Regions from separate parts of the Homo sapiens genome. Here regions 1, 3 and 4 are each linked to region 2. The links are contacts of gene promoters, found by promoter capture Hi-C in blood cells and fetal thymus (Javierre and others, 2016). All regions are on one chromosome and are shown on one strand. Each heading gives the region's core, a stretch centred on a gene start or on the middle of the fragment in contact. The rest is flanking DNA. Distances are from core to core; before and after follow the strand shown. Region 1 overlaps OR52N2 (olfactory receptor family 52 subfamily N member 2). Region 2 holds the start of OR51E1 (olfactory receptor family 51 subfamily E member 1). Region 3 overlaps LOC101927825 (a long non-coding RNA gene). Region 4 has its middle 8.0 kb from the start of OR52N1.

Region 1 (3,379 bases), core at 506-3,005, 1.2 Mb after region 2:
TCTGAAATTAGACAAGACATAGGTATCCTCTTTCACCACTTCTATTCAACATAGTACTGAAAGTCCTAGCCAGAGCAATTAGGCAAGGACAAGAAATAAAAGGCCTCTCAATTGAAAAAGAAGAAGTAAAATTATCTTTGTTCACCGTTGAAATGATCTACTATGTAGAAAACCCTAAAGATTCCACAAAACTTGTTAAAATAATAAATGAGCAAGGTAACAAGATACGAAGTCAGAATGCAAAAATCAGTTGCCTTTTTATACGTTAACAACAATCTGAAAAGAAATTTAGAAAAAACAATTCACAATAGCACATAAAATAATAAAATACATAAGAAAATACAAAATACATAATAAAATTATATTTTATTTTTAATTCCATTGTAAATTAAATTATTTTCCTAATTTCCTTTCAGATTGTTTGTTATTAATGCAAAAGCAAGAAACTTATATAATTAAAACTGTAAAATATTGCCGAAATAAATTAAAGAAGACATTAATAAATGGAAATACATGCCATGTTCAAGGGGTGGACGATAGTATTGTTAGGATGTCAGTACAACCCAAAGTAATCTACAGATTTAGTAAAATCCCTATCAAAATCCCAATAATTAATTTTGCAGAAATAGAAAAATCCATTCTACAATTCATATGAAATCTCAAGGGACCCTACATAGCCAAAGCAATCTTGAACAAAGAGAAAAGCTGGAGGACTCACATTTCTGATTTCAAAACTTATGACAAAGTGACAGTAAACCAAAACAGTGTGGCACTAGCACAAAGTCAGAACTGCAGACCAATGAAGTAGAACAGAGAGCCCAGAGTGAACCCTCACATATGTGGTAAAGTTACTTTTGACAAGAGTGTCAATATCATTCAATGTTGAAAGGACATTCTTTACAATAAATAGTGCTGAGAAAACTGGGTATCTACATGTACAGAAATGAAGTTGGACTGTTACATAACAGCATGTCCAAATATTAACTCAAAATGGATCAAAGACGTAAAAATAAAACCTAAAATTATGAAACTCTTGGAAGAAAACAAAGAGAAAAAATTTTATGACATTGGATTTGGTAATGATTTCTTGGAAATGACACTAAAGGCACAGGCACAGGAAACAAAAGAAAAAAACAGATAAATTAGACTTTATGAAATTTGTTTTTAAATTGTGCATCAAAAGATTCTATAAACAAAGTAAAAAGGCAACCCACAGACCAGAAGAAAATATTTATAAATTATATATCTGATAGGTATTAATATCCAAAATATATATAGAGCTCCTAAACCTCAACAACAACAACAAACAGCTTAATAAGAAATGGGCAAAGGATTAGAATAGACATTTCTCCAAAGAAGATATACAAATGGATAATAAACACATAAAAGACACTGGACATCAGTAATCATTAGGGAACTGCAAATTAAAACTACAATAAAAAACCACCTTACACCAATTAGGATGGCTACTATAAAAATAAACAGAAAATAATAAATGTCAGTGAGAATGTAGAGAAATTGGACACTTGTGCCCTTTTGGCAAAAATGTAAAATGCTACAGCTGCGGTGGAAAACAGTATGGTAGTTCCTCAAAAAATTAAAACTAAAAATAGCATATGATTCAGCAATCTCACTATTGCGTGAGATCCCCAGGAGAATTGAAATCAGTATGTTGAAGAGGTGTCTGCAGTCACACGTTCATTGCAGCATTATTCACAGTAACCAAGATATAAGAACAATCTAATTGCCCATCAATGGATGAATGAATAATGGATAAGCAAAATGTAGTATGTATGTGTATGTGTGTATATACATGTGTGTATATACGTGTGTATATATACATTATATATGTATATATATATGTATGTGTGTATATACCTGTACATATAATGCAATATTACTCAGACTTAAAAAGGAAGAACATTCTGACATCTGCTACCACATAGATGAAACTTAGGACATTATGCTAAATAAAATATGCCTGTCACAAAAAGACAAATATCATATGATTCCATTTATATAAAGTACCTAGAAAGGTCAAAATCATTAGACAGCAGAAAGAATAGTGGTTGCCAGAGGCTGGTGGGAGGGCAAATGGAGAGTTATTGTTTAATGGGTGTAGAGTTTCAGTTTGACAGGATGAAAAGAGTTCTGGAGATGGAGAGTGGTGATGGCTGCAAAACATGATGAATGTATTTAATGCCACTGAACTGTATATACCTGAACATGATTAAGATGGCAAACTTTGTTATGTATATTTTACTACACTACAAAAAGAATGAATCGGGCATGTCAATAACTAAACCAAACACAATACAAATATTTATGAGCAAAGTGATAAATTATAGGGCACCCTATGAACTTTCTTTTTAAAGAACTGCATAGGAGGTCTTCATGCAGTTGAGTGTAAACAGTGCGGAGGCCATGTATGGTCTCCAATTTAGGAAGCCTGATCTAAATCTTCTTTTTTTGAGAGACACGGTCTCACTCTGTCACCCAGGCTGGAGTGCAGTAGAGTTATCTCAGCTCACTGCAACCTCTGCCTCCCAGGCTCAAGCGACCCTCCCATCTCAGCCTCCCGAGTTGCTGGGACTACAGGCTTGCACTACCACGCCTGGCTAATCTTTGTATTTTTAGTGGAGACGGGTTTCACCATATTGTCCAGGCAGGTCTCAAACTCTTGGGCCCCCCAAAGTGCTGGGATTATAGGTGTGAGCCACTGCGCCTGACCTCCTGATCTAAATCCAACCAATGTTTCATACCAATTCTCATTTTTCTACATTTTTAGATCTAAAAGAGAAGAGTTTACACTGAAACTCATATATGTATTTTTGTAATAGCTGCATTAATTTAAATTTTGACAAAATAATTTTGTGTGTATTCTATTGTTTTATAAACACAACTAAATTTTTCATTTAAATGAAAGTTTTGTTTCCAAGGAGTCGCAGGAATCTTTATACACCTGTATGTAATATTGCTAATGCTGAAAGCTAAACAAAACAACAAAAGGAATACATTAATTTTTTAAATACTTATAAAAGAAATTTCTGGAAATACATACATCAGACTTTAGGTTTTAATAGCATTTACTTCAGAAGTGGATTAAGGTGAAATGTGAGTTTATGGGAATGTTATGACTATTTTCTACTTCATATCATTTCATACAAAAGAGTTTAAGTATAGAAAAATTGTGTTTTGTGGGGTTTTTTAGTAAAAAGGAAGAAAGGTCAAAATATACAATTACTTTCCACTATAATATAAAATTTAAAACCAATACTACCTTGAAAAAAAAGTTTGCAAATACAACAGACAATGGGTTGATAATTTTCATTTTGAAAGTGCTTATCATGCAATGAATAAACACTAACACCTCCAATGA
Region 2 (3,330 bases), core at 411-2,910:
ATCCTCACCTCTCCCTTCCCTTTTTGGCTTATCTGCCAAACATGTATAAAAGTCCTTGGTTCCCCATCTCTACTAAAAATACAACAATTAGCCGGGTGTGATGGCGCGTGCCTGTAGTCCCAGCTAGTTGGGAGGCTGAGGCAGGAGAAACGCTTGAGCCCGCAAGGTGGAGGTTGCAGTGAGCCGAGATCATGCCACTGCACTCCAGCCTGGTGACAGAGCAAGACTCTGTGTCAAAAAAAAAAAAAAAAAAAAAGCCTTGGTTGTAGGGAGTTTCTCCTAATCCCTCTGGGAAAGCAAGGGTGGAGGGGAAGCCAGTCAATCTCCCTTCTGTTGCCGCATGGAAACTCCCTTAAGGCAGGAAGCTGAAAAAACTGTAGCATTCACCTCATTATTCACCTTGTCTCATGTCTCACTGTCCTTCCACATGTCTCATTGTTACTCCATATTGGATGGAAGTAGAAGTCCCTTTGGTATTTTTTAAAGTCTTTGCCATGTCTAAGTTAATGAGGTTAATGGAGGCAGCAGAGATGGCTCCAGGGTTCTGATAGCAAGTGTCAGGCTGCGTGCTCTGTAGGCACCAGAAACTGTTGTCACCAGTAATTTTGATGTGGTCTGAGTTAGAATGGTCTGATTTGCCATGATCTATTTAACATAGCTTGATTTAGCGTGTCCTGTGTTCTGAATTTAAAACTCACAGTTGTGAAACTGATCAGTAAAAAATAAGGGGAGACCAACTAAAAACCATGTTGTTCTATTTATAGATGTAGTTTTTACTTATTTCAAAATACGAGGTATTTAGTTTTACATTCAAATTGTTCTCTAACTCTCTAAAATGTTCTCTGACTATTTTTGCCCTTAAGGGAGAAACCAGATGTCATTGGTCTTACGTGGCTGGTGTTGGGGGTGGGGAGGGTTAAAGAAACCACGTTCTCTGTCCTCAGCCAGAAGTTCAGTAATCCAAGGCCAGAGAGTGGACGGCAGAGGCACTGTCCCTGGGGACCTTGGTTATAAGTTATCCAGACACAGGGACCAGAGCCTGGGAGACAAAAAAAGATGTAGCCCTAGGGCTTTGGGAAAAGGAGGATGGACCCAGTGAATTCCACGCTTAGCAAGGACCTAAACAGTGTCCCCCAAATGAGAGAAGGGAGGACAGAAAGAACACTTCAGGATGGAAATGGGCTGACACTTAACCGTGGAGTGTCTCTGCAAACTTCCTTTGCCATTCTCCTGTTTGAGTTTGATAAACCTGAGAAGAGACTTGGATAAAGACCGTCACGAAGACTACACTAATGAGTTTCTTCTAGCTTTTTTCTACTCACTTTCCCTATCTATCCTTCACATTGGGAGTTGGCATGAGGATCCCAGCAGCCCATCAGGGGAGGACTCTAGAGATCCCTTTCCCCATTGCCTCTCCTCCCCATACCCCCAGGCATATCCTCCCAGGGCACGGAAGCTGAGAAGCAGTCCAGAACCACAGTGGGCTAGTGAGGGGTACCTGCTGATGTACCCTTTGGACAGCATTCTGCCCCACCCTGCAGGAAGAAGCAGAAGGAGGGAGAGGGTGAGGCAGAGAATAAATAACCCTGACCAGGGAGGTCCAAGGGAGTAGGCGGAGACAGAGAGGCTGTATTTCAGTGCAGCCTGCCAGACCTCTTCTGGAGGAAGACTGGACAAAGGGGGTCACACATTCCTTCCATACGGTTGAGGTGAGTGCAGGAGGCCAGGGGCATGTCCAGGTGCATGGGTTACTTGCAGCTAGGGGTCTCCTGTTAGACTTGCTGAGTGCATGAGAAGCCAGGCTGTGAAGAACCAGAAGTGGGAGATGTGTAGGAAGCCCCTGACTCAAAGGACAGGCAGCCTTAGTGATCTCTAGGTTTGTGTGCTGAACAGAAAGCATGTGGGTGCTGGAGGTAGCCTAAGGGTAGTTTTCAAGCAGTTTTTCAGTGATTAGTTTACTAGTATGCCCATCTGGAGGCTGGCAGGGGCTGATGTGAATGAGGACAGAGGACAGAGGACAGGCTGGGCTGGGGTTAGACTGGGGCTGCATTGGGGTTGGGTCGGGGTTTGGTGTGTGAACAGGGTGAACGTGGTTGAAGCTCAGTCTATGACTGGGGATGAGGCTGCAGCTGGGGTGGAAGTGGGGCTCTGAGTGAGGTTGGTTTCACTGTATGCTGTACATCAGGAGTCAGGCTGTGGCTGAGACTGGGACTTAGTAATCTTCCTGGGGCTCCGATCTCAGCTTGGTCTGTGTCTAGGATCAGGATTCAGTCTTCAGCCCATTTAAAAAGTAGATTAGTGTCCACACGGCAACACCCCTTGCCTTGTACTCTTTACCCTAGCTACACTAAGTCACTTTCAGCTTTCCAAACAAGGTCTGTTCTCTTTCTCTCTGGCTCTTTGTATTAGCCAGGATGTATTTTTAAAAACAAACTAGATAAGTTCTGTTGCTGAAATTCCCCCAAGTCACTCAGAATTAAACCAAAGCTCCTTGCCATACCCTGCAAGACCCTGTTACCTGATGAGGTCCTTGCCTTCCTCCCGCCTCATCTTCTCAAACTCTGTTGTGCTCTTGATGCTCTGGCCACCTTGACCTTCCTTTTGTTCCATGAATCCCCCAATATCATTCTTGCTGGGGGACGCTTTTCTCTTGCTGTCTCCCACAGTTGGAATGCACTTTCCCTGGATCTTAGAATGGCTGGTGTTTTCTCATCACATGTCACATCCTTAAGAGAGGCTTTTTCTGACCCCTGTCTCCAGTATGAGTGTCCTGCACCCATCTTCCTCTGTCCTATCACTCTTTCTTTCGTGCCCTTATCTTCAACTGAAATTTTATTTGTTTACTTCTCATTATTGGCCTCGTGTTATATGAGCTCCATAAAAGCCATCATCTTGTCTGATTTATCTACTGTTTCATCTCCAGTTTTTGACACTCAATATGTTTTTGTTGTCTAACCGAATGCTGCTGTGCCCCACCCCATTAACTGCCTGTGTCACTGCCCCATTACCTGCCTGCAGCAGGTCCCGCCACTGCCATGGCTTAAATGTCACCTCCTCAGGGAAGCCCTTGGAACCTAAAAAGCTTGCTGAGCTATTGTTGTCTTTGCTTCTGAGGCCCTTTTGCTTCCCCTTGTCCCAGAATTTATCATAATGTGCTGTGATGGCTGCATATTTGTCTCAATTTCTCCCCATCCTTGGAAGGCTGGAACGATATCTCTGGTACTCAGTGGAGTCTGGCACAGAAGTCCGTCAATGATTATTGAAAAAATGAGTACACTGATCAAAATCCCACTTTGGGCATTTCCCTTGCCTTACATTTGCTTGCAGCCA
Region 3 (3,380 bases), core at 855-3,354, 1.7 Mb after region 2:
CGGGCCTCTATTAATAGGGTGACCAACTATCCTGGTTTACCTTGAGTACAGGATTTTCAATGCTAAAACCAGAAAAACCAGGATGGTTGGTCATCTGCCTCAGACCTAATAAATACCAGTCAATAATTCAGCCATGAGCTTTCTTAAGACACTGTCTTTTCTTGACTGTTGAATAGTCTAGGACTTGAGTAGCAGCTCTTTCTGCTACTGGACACTTGTTTTACTACCCTATTTCTCTAGATTTTATTTTGTGGCTAATAATTAAGACATAAAATCATGGGTTCTGGTTATGCCAAAGCACTCACTCTTCAAAAGTTTCCATCCAGAGTTGGATAATCCCACACAGAAGGTGTTCTTTCAACAGACCAGCATCCAATAGACCCAATGCAGCATTTTTCTTCCTGGTTCCACATTAATACATCCTATCTCTGCTATGCTTAGGTCCCTGATTTATAAATATTTCAGACATATTTTCTCAGGACACAGGGAGTACTTAAACTTCCACATAGCAGAGATACGACATACAATAAGCTGTTATCTGGAAACTCCTAGTGATGCTTTGAGTACTTTACAGTAATCTTTCTGGTCTTCCTCTCAACCCCATTAAGTTTTTCTGTAACTAGCTGGTGTATCTGTCTCCATCTTTAAGGAATAAGTCCCTATTTGCTCATGCTATAATCTCCCTCATGCTCTCCGTCCCTCCTTCCCTCTCCTTCTCTCTTTCTGTCTCTCTCTCTCTCCACCCTGATTGTGAGATGCTACACCTTAATAGTTTTCTATACCTAGATCCCTTTTGAAGGAGTAATTTCAGCCATCACTGAAATCTATGCTTTTTTATCTTGTTAGATTTATTTAGGACCTAATGACTGTTTCTGAGCTAATAATAACGCAATCAGCTCATATTTTTCTGATACTCTAAGAGCAATTACATCTAGTTGCATCACCTTTTCCTTTTTTATTCATGTATCTTAGGCTTCTCAAGATATGAGACTAGCACTTGAGCCTGAGATAAGCCTTAAGAATTCCAGGATAGTCTCTCCATAGTTCCCTTTCTTGGATAAAGTCATTTCAAAACATCTTAGTGGATCAGATTTGGAGCAGCCTACTTACACTGGTGAATACCACAACTAATAAATAATTGTTCTGCACCCCACCCACATCTAAAGGATTCAGGGTGTCTTTTACAGATATAGGACTCTCCTTTCTCTGTTTCTCTTCTCTCTCTTCTCCTTGATTAAAGCTTTGCTTCAGCTGTCCCTGCTCACTACGGCACTGCACCTCACCAGCATCTTCATGGCCCTCACATGGCTCATGTGCATATCCTAACTCTGATACTAAGGGAGGAGACCACCCCTCATATTGTCTTATGCCCAATTTCTGCCTCCAAAGAAAGAAGAAGTAAAAACTAAAAGGCAGAAATGAAATCCACAAGCAGACAGCCCGGCGCCACACCCTGGGCCTGGTAGTTAAAGATCGACCCCTGACCTAATCGGTTATTTGCATAAGAAAAGCACTGTGAAGATCCCTGTCCTGTTCTGTTCCATTCTAATTACCGGTGTATGCAGCCCCCAGTCATGTACCCCTGCTTGCTCAATCGATCACGACCCTCTCACGTGGACCCCCTTAGAGTTGTGGGCCCTTAAAAGGGACAGGAATTGCTCACTCGGGGAGCTTGGTTGTTGGAGATGTGAGTCTTGCTAAAGCTCCCAGCCGAATAAAGCCCTTCCTTCTTAACTCGGTGTCTGAGAGGTTTAGTCTGCAGCTTGTCCTGCTCTAATACCTGTGTAGTTCAAGAATAATCTACAGCACATTACACCCAAGGCTCTCACTTTGGCTATAGTTGTGTCTTTACTGAGCCATCCCCCAACCCCGCCCACAGTGGCATCTGGCTAAGGCCTACCCTTTTGAATATTAAGGACACCCACATGCACCTTGACAGAGACATTTTGGCTGAAGGCAGGCAAGACCCATCTACTGTTCCCCTAAGGTCAGCCCAGAGCCCTGCCTCTATTAAAAACAGATCCTTACCTGTGGATAAGGTAACCTGTGGGTAACAGATCCTTACCCGAGACTTGTGGGGCCCCATCAAGGTGAAAGTCCCACCTGGGCCCGGGCATGGGGAGTCATGCCTGTAATCCCAACACTTTGGGAGGCCAAGGAGGGTGGATCACCTGAGATCAGGAGTTCGAGACCAACCTGACCAATACGGTGAAACCCCGTCTCTATTAAAAATACAAAAATTAGGTGTGATGGTGCACACGTGTAGTCCCAGCTACTTGGGAGGCTGAGGCAGGAGAACTGCTTGAACCCAGGAGGTGGAGGTTGCAGTGAGCCGAGATCGTGCCACTGCCCTCCAGCCTGGGCGACAGAGTGAGACTCCATCAAAAAAAAAAAAAAAAAAAAAAACTCCCCCTGGCCAGCAATGAAAACCTGAAACTTCCTCCCCAGTTACAACTGATAAAAACCAGTTACATCCATTAAAAGAGACTTCTGGCTTAATATAAACTTCCACAAAACCACTGCAATCACAAATGTATGCTTGCTCAAGTCCAAACCCAAAACTGGCTTCACCAAAAGCCTCTTAACATAATAGTTGGGTCTCCAAATTTCACTCCCTGTTTATTTTTTAAGGCTCCTGGTCCAGTGAATCAGATGTTGAAGTTGTGTGTTGAAGATGTGCCTCAATAAACGGCACATCTTTCCCTCTCCTGAGTTCAACACCAGTTAAAAGGTAGAAACCAATAATCATTTCTATGACTGACAAAGTTAATATTAGAAAGATGGCTTATATCATTGGATAAAATAACTTTCTAATAGTGAATCCCAGAAATAAAAAGAGGTTTACCTACACAGCTATAGTTCATACTGGAAAAATGAGGTCTACCAATGGGGCAAGCCCCTTTAGAATGTCCTTTGAAGTGCATGCTTTTGAGGTCAACCTGGATCCCAAAGAGACAACTGGGAAAGCTGAAGCTTGTTCTTCCCAAATGTATCATTTAGCTAAGTCATTGACTTCTCTTCTGGAGAGGGAGGCCAGTATTATTACTCTAAAAGAGCTCCCTCCATGTGAAATGAACCATTGAGAGCGAAGAAAAGCACTTTTCTCCAGTCGTAGTCAAGGTTAACCATCCTAATGGATAAAGAAAATGTGGGATATATTCAGCCCTTATAAAGAAGGAAATCCTTTCATTTGTGACAATATGGAGAAACCTGGAAAACATTATGTGAAGTAAAACAAGCCAGACACAGAAGGACAAATATTGCATGATTTCAGAAATATGTGGAATCTTTAAAAAGTCAAACTTATAGAAGCAGAGAGTAGAATAGAAGTTACCAGTAGCTGCGGCCAGGCGCGGTGGCTCACGCCTGTAATCCCAGCA
Region 4 (3,168 bases), core at 13-2,512, 1.2 Mb after region 2:
AAGGGGATTCCATGAGGCTGATGTGACAAGGACCAAAGAGATATAGGCAAGCATATTTCTATACAATAATAGAAAAACTTCTCTGCCCTCCATAGATGGAAGAGTATTCCTCAGGAAGCAGTAACATCTCTACCATTGAAAATGAATTAGTGTAAGAGTTAGGATGGAGGGTGGGAAGACGGAAAAGATCAGAAAAAATAACTAATGGGTACTAGACTTATTACCTGAGTGATGAAATAATCTCCACAACAAACCCCCATGACAAAAATTTAACTATGGAACAAACCTGCACTTGTATCCCTGAACTTAAAAGTTAAAAAAAAGAACACTTGGAAGAAATTCTAGTGATCATGTAGCCCAAGTTCTTGACGACATTAATGACATATGCCGTTTTCCCACTGCTTGATACCTCAGATGGCAGTGATCCCATTATCTTATTAGAAAATTTTATCTGTGTGAATGGGCAACATTCCTCAAAGCCAAATTTACATTTCTGTAACATTTTTCTATTTATAATATGTTTATTTTGGGGATATGCAAAATAATACAAAAGACAATTTGCATGCATCTACTACATGTACTCTTCCCAATTCTAAATATCTCCGATTTCATTAATTTTTAATTTTTGTAGATAAGATTAAGGACATCTTGAAACTTGAAATCATGTCTTCCTAATACGTTTTTATTTTTCAAAGTTTATTGTGACACTAATTTGTTAAGGTATTTATGTATAAGCAGGAGAACCATCCAAAAAGGAGATTTTAGAATTTATTCATCCATCCGTTCATTATACAGCTTGGGATGAACATAGCAGGCATTGATACTGCAAGTAGAAATATCTTTAATTGTACATGTTTGTTAAGCTTGAGAAAACTTCAGTAGGTATGGATGGACTGAGAGAATGAGAATTAGAATACTGGGAGATACATTCAGATATTTAAAAGAGCCCTAATTGTGTAGGATTTTGTAAACAAATATAAGGATGTTGGTGTTTGCTCTGAGTAAGACGGAAGTATCCAGGAGGTTTTAAGGGATGGCTGGATATAATTTTATTTTCACTTATTTTGTAGAGCGATATAATGATAATAATACTAACAATAATTGTGATAGTATTACGTATTTTTCTTATTATGTTCCAGGTTGTGCTGAAAAATTACATGGTTTACTTTACTTAACATTAAAAGTATTTTGCCTTAAAGCAAAATGCTTTAAAAATAATCAGTTCTATTTTTTATTGTTTTCTAGAAGGTTTTACTTTTATCTTTTTTATATACTGAGATTATTTATACAGCAACACTTGAAAAGATTTCCACTGATTAATGGTTAAAAAAAACTCTGTAGAAAACTCTAGGTTAAATCCCATCACAGCGATAGAGACAGACGGACACACACACACACACACACACACACACACACACACACAGAGAAAGAGAGAGAGAGAGAGAAGCAATCAAAATTAGAACTTTGAAGAAGGAGATTAACATATAACAGAAGATAATATAAAATAATTTGTTAAACTGCAATGATATGGAAAAATGAATAATTCAATTTGGTAATCTAAAGCAACCAATAACTGGGGAAATATTTTTAAAAAGAATGAAAGAAAGAAAGAAAGAAGGAAAGAAACAAAAGGTAAGACTATGGAGTCTCACTTTAATCAGAAAAGCTTACAAGGTTAGATTCATGTTTCAGACTTCAGAAGAAAGATGGAAAGCTAACCATTCTCAAAAACTGGACTAAAAAATTAGTAAAGATTTTATCCTACCCAATATAATTGTCTATAGTTATTTGGGGGCTAAAAATGATACATCAAAAGAAGGTATAAAATTATGATCATAGGTAATACATGTACTGTATATTAATAGTATATGTAAGCACACTTAAAGAGTGATATATATCATGGATTTATCATATGTATCATGCTTATATATATCATGCTTATCAACATAGAGATTTGAGGAGAGTTAACAAAAAGCATGAAAATTACGTAGAGCTTAATAATGTTATTAGCTAAATGCAAACATTTCAAAAATATTTCATGCTTACCATCAAGAAACCTGAAAGAATACAAAAAGAGACGAATACAAAATACACATGGCCATGATTTATAAATTGTAACTTATTATGTACCTTTTTGGCCCTTCCCATCTCTGTCCTTGATTTTTCTGACTTGGAAAATCCAGACCTGCCAGGTTTACACTTGTATATAGATCAAGCTGAATCATAATAGAAGTGCATAATTGGTAGGTGCTGACATAATTTGATTAACTATAACCCAGTGGACACATCTCAAAGTATTTCTTGAAAGAAGGGATAGTTTGTAGTGAATTAAGAAAATCAATGTTACTTAAATAGAGTTTATAATTTGGAAATTGGTTGAGGTTGCAAAGTCAAGCATTACTAAATGGCCCAGGAATGTAAGCAGACACATATAAACAGAGTTTCCAGTAGAAAACCAAGCCAGGCCAGGGCTTTGGCACTATGTTTACAATATGTTTTTATTCTGTTGGTTCAGTTACAGTCATAGGACCATTCAATAGAATCAAAAAACATAGTTTGGATACAAAATGATTATTTTTTCCTAAATTTATTATTTAGATTGTGAAAAATGCGTTTTTATATTTTTTTCTCTGGATGAAAATAATCTCACTACTCTCTCCTTATACAGGACAACTTTATTGGCACAAAAACTAGCATGTTTTGTAATTGGTGAGCATCATGAATGGAGCCAACAGCTCCAGCCTGACACCAAGATATTTCATTCTCAGTGGCGTTCCTGGGCTGGAAGCTGCACACATCTGGATCTCCCTGCCTTTCTGCTTCATGTACATCATTGTTGTTTTGGGGAACTGTGGACTTATATACCTCATTAGCCATGAGGAGGCCCTGCACCAACCCACCTACTACTTCCTAGACTTGCTGTCTCTTACAGATGTTACTGGATGCACCTCATTTGTTCCCAATATGTTATGTATTTTTTGGTTTGGCCTCAAGGAAATTGACTTTAATGCCTGCCTTGTGCAGATGTTTTTCATCCACATGCTGACAGGCATGGAGTCTGGGGCGCTCATGCTTATGGCTCTAGACCGCTATGTGGCCATTTGCTACCCTCTACACTATTCCACCATCTTCACCAACACTGTAATTACCAAAGTTGGGCTTGTCACC

The links. Contacts are between HindIII fragments. The CHiCAGO score rates a contact against its expected background, and 5 or more counts as called.
Region 1: a contact is called between a fragment that was not itself captured here and the fragment with the promoter of OR51E1 in region 2, in 4 of 17 cell types (activated CD4 T cells, total CD4 T cells, naive CD8 T cells and 1 more). The highest score is 10.2, in activated CD4 T cells.
Region 3: a fragment that was not itself captured here is called in contact with the fragment with the promoter of OR51E1 in region 2 in 1 of 17 cell types (total B cells); the score reaches 5.4 in total B cells.
Region 4: a fragment that was not itself captured here is called in contact with the fragment with the promoter of OR51E1 in region 2 in 5 of 17 cell types (total CD4 T cells, total CD8 T cells, naive CD8 T cells and 2 more); the score reaches 9.2 in total CD4 T cells.

The regions. Positions count from the first base shown.
Region 1 is chr11:5,814,085-5,817,463 of GRCh38, forward strand. All of the region lies in intron 1 of OR52N2 (olfactory receptor family 52 subfamily N member 2), which reads left to right. Among named protein-coding and RNA genes, the nearest start is that of OR52N2, 6.8 kb to the left of the region's middle. The HindIII fragment of the contact is 3,529 bases long and covers 1-3,379 here.
Region 2 is chr11:4,642,322-4,645,651 of GRCh38, forward strand. OR51E1 (olfactory receptor family 51 subfamily E member 1) reads left to right here and starts at 1,661. Exons shown (of 2, transcript NM_152430.4): 1 at 1,661-1,709. OR51D1 (olfactory receptor family 51 subfamily D member 1) reads left to right here. Exons shown (of 2, transcript NM_001004751.3): 2 at 1-739. The HindIII fragment of the contact is 7,717 bases long and covers 1-3,080 here.
Region 3 is chr11:6,344,636-6,348,015 of GRCh38, forward strand. LOC101927825 (a long non-coding RNA gene) reads left to right here. Exons shown (of 7, transcript XR_930998.4): 7 at 1-1,734. Among named protein-coding and RNA genes, the nearest start is that of CAVIN3, 26 kb to the left of the region's middle. The HindIII fragment of the contact is 1,733 bases long and covers 1,239-2,971 here.
Region 4 is chr11:5,797,646-5,800,813 of GRCh38, forward strand. It overlaps the pseudogene OR52N3P. Among named protein-coding and RNA genes, the nearest start is that of OR52N1, 8.0 kb to the left of the region's middle. The HindIII fragment of the contact is 803 bases long and covers 862-1,664 here.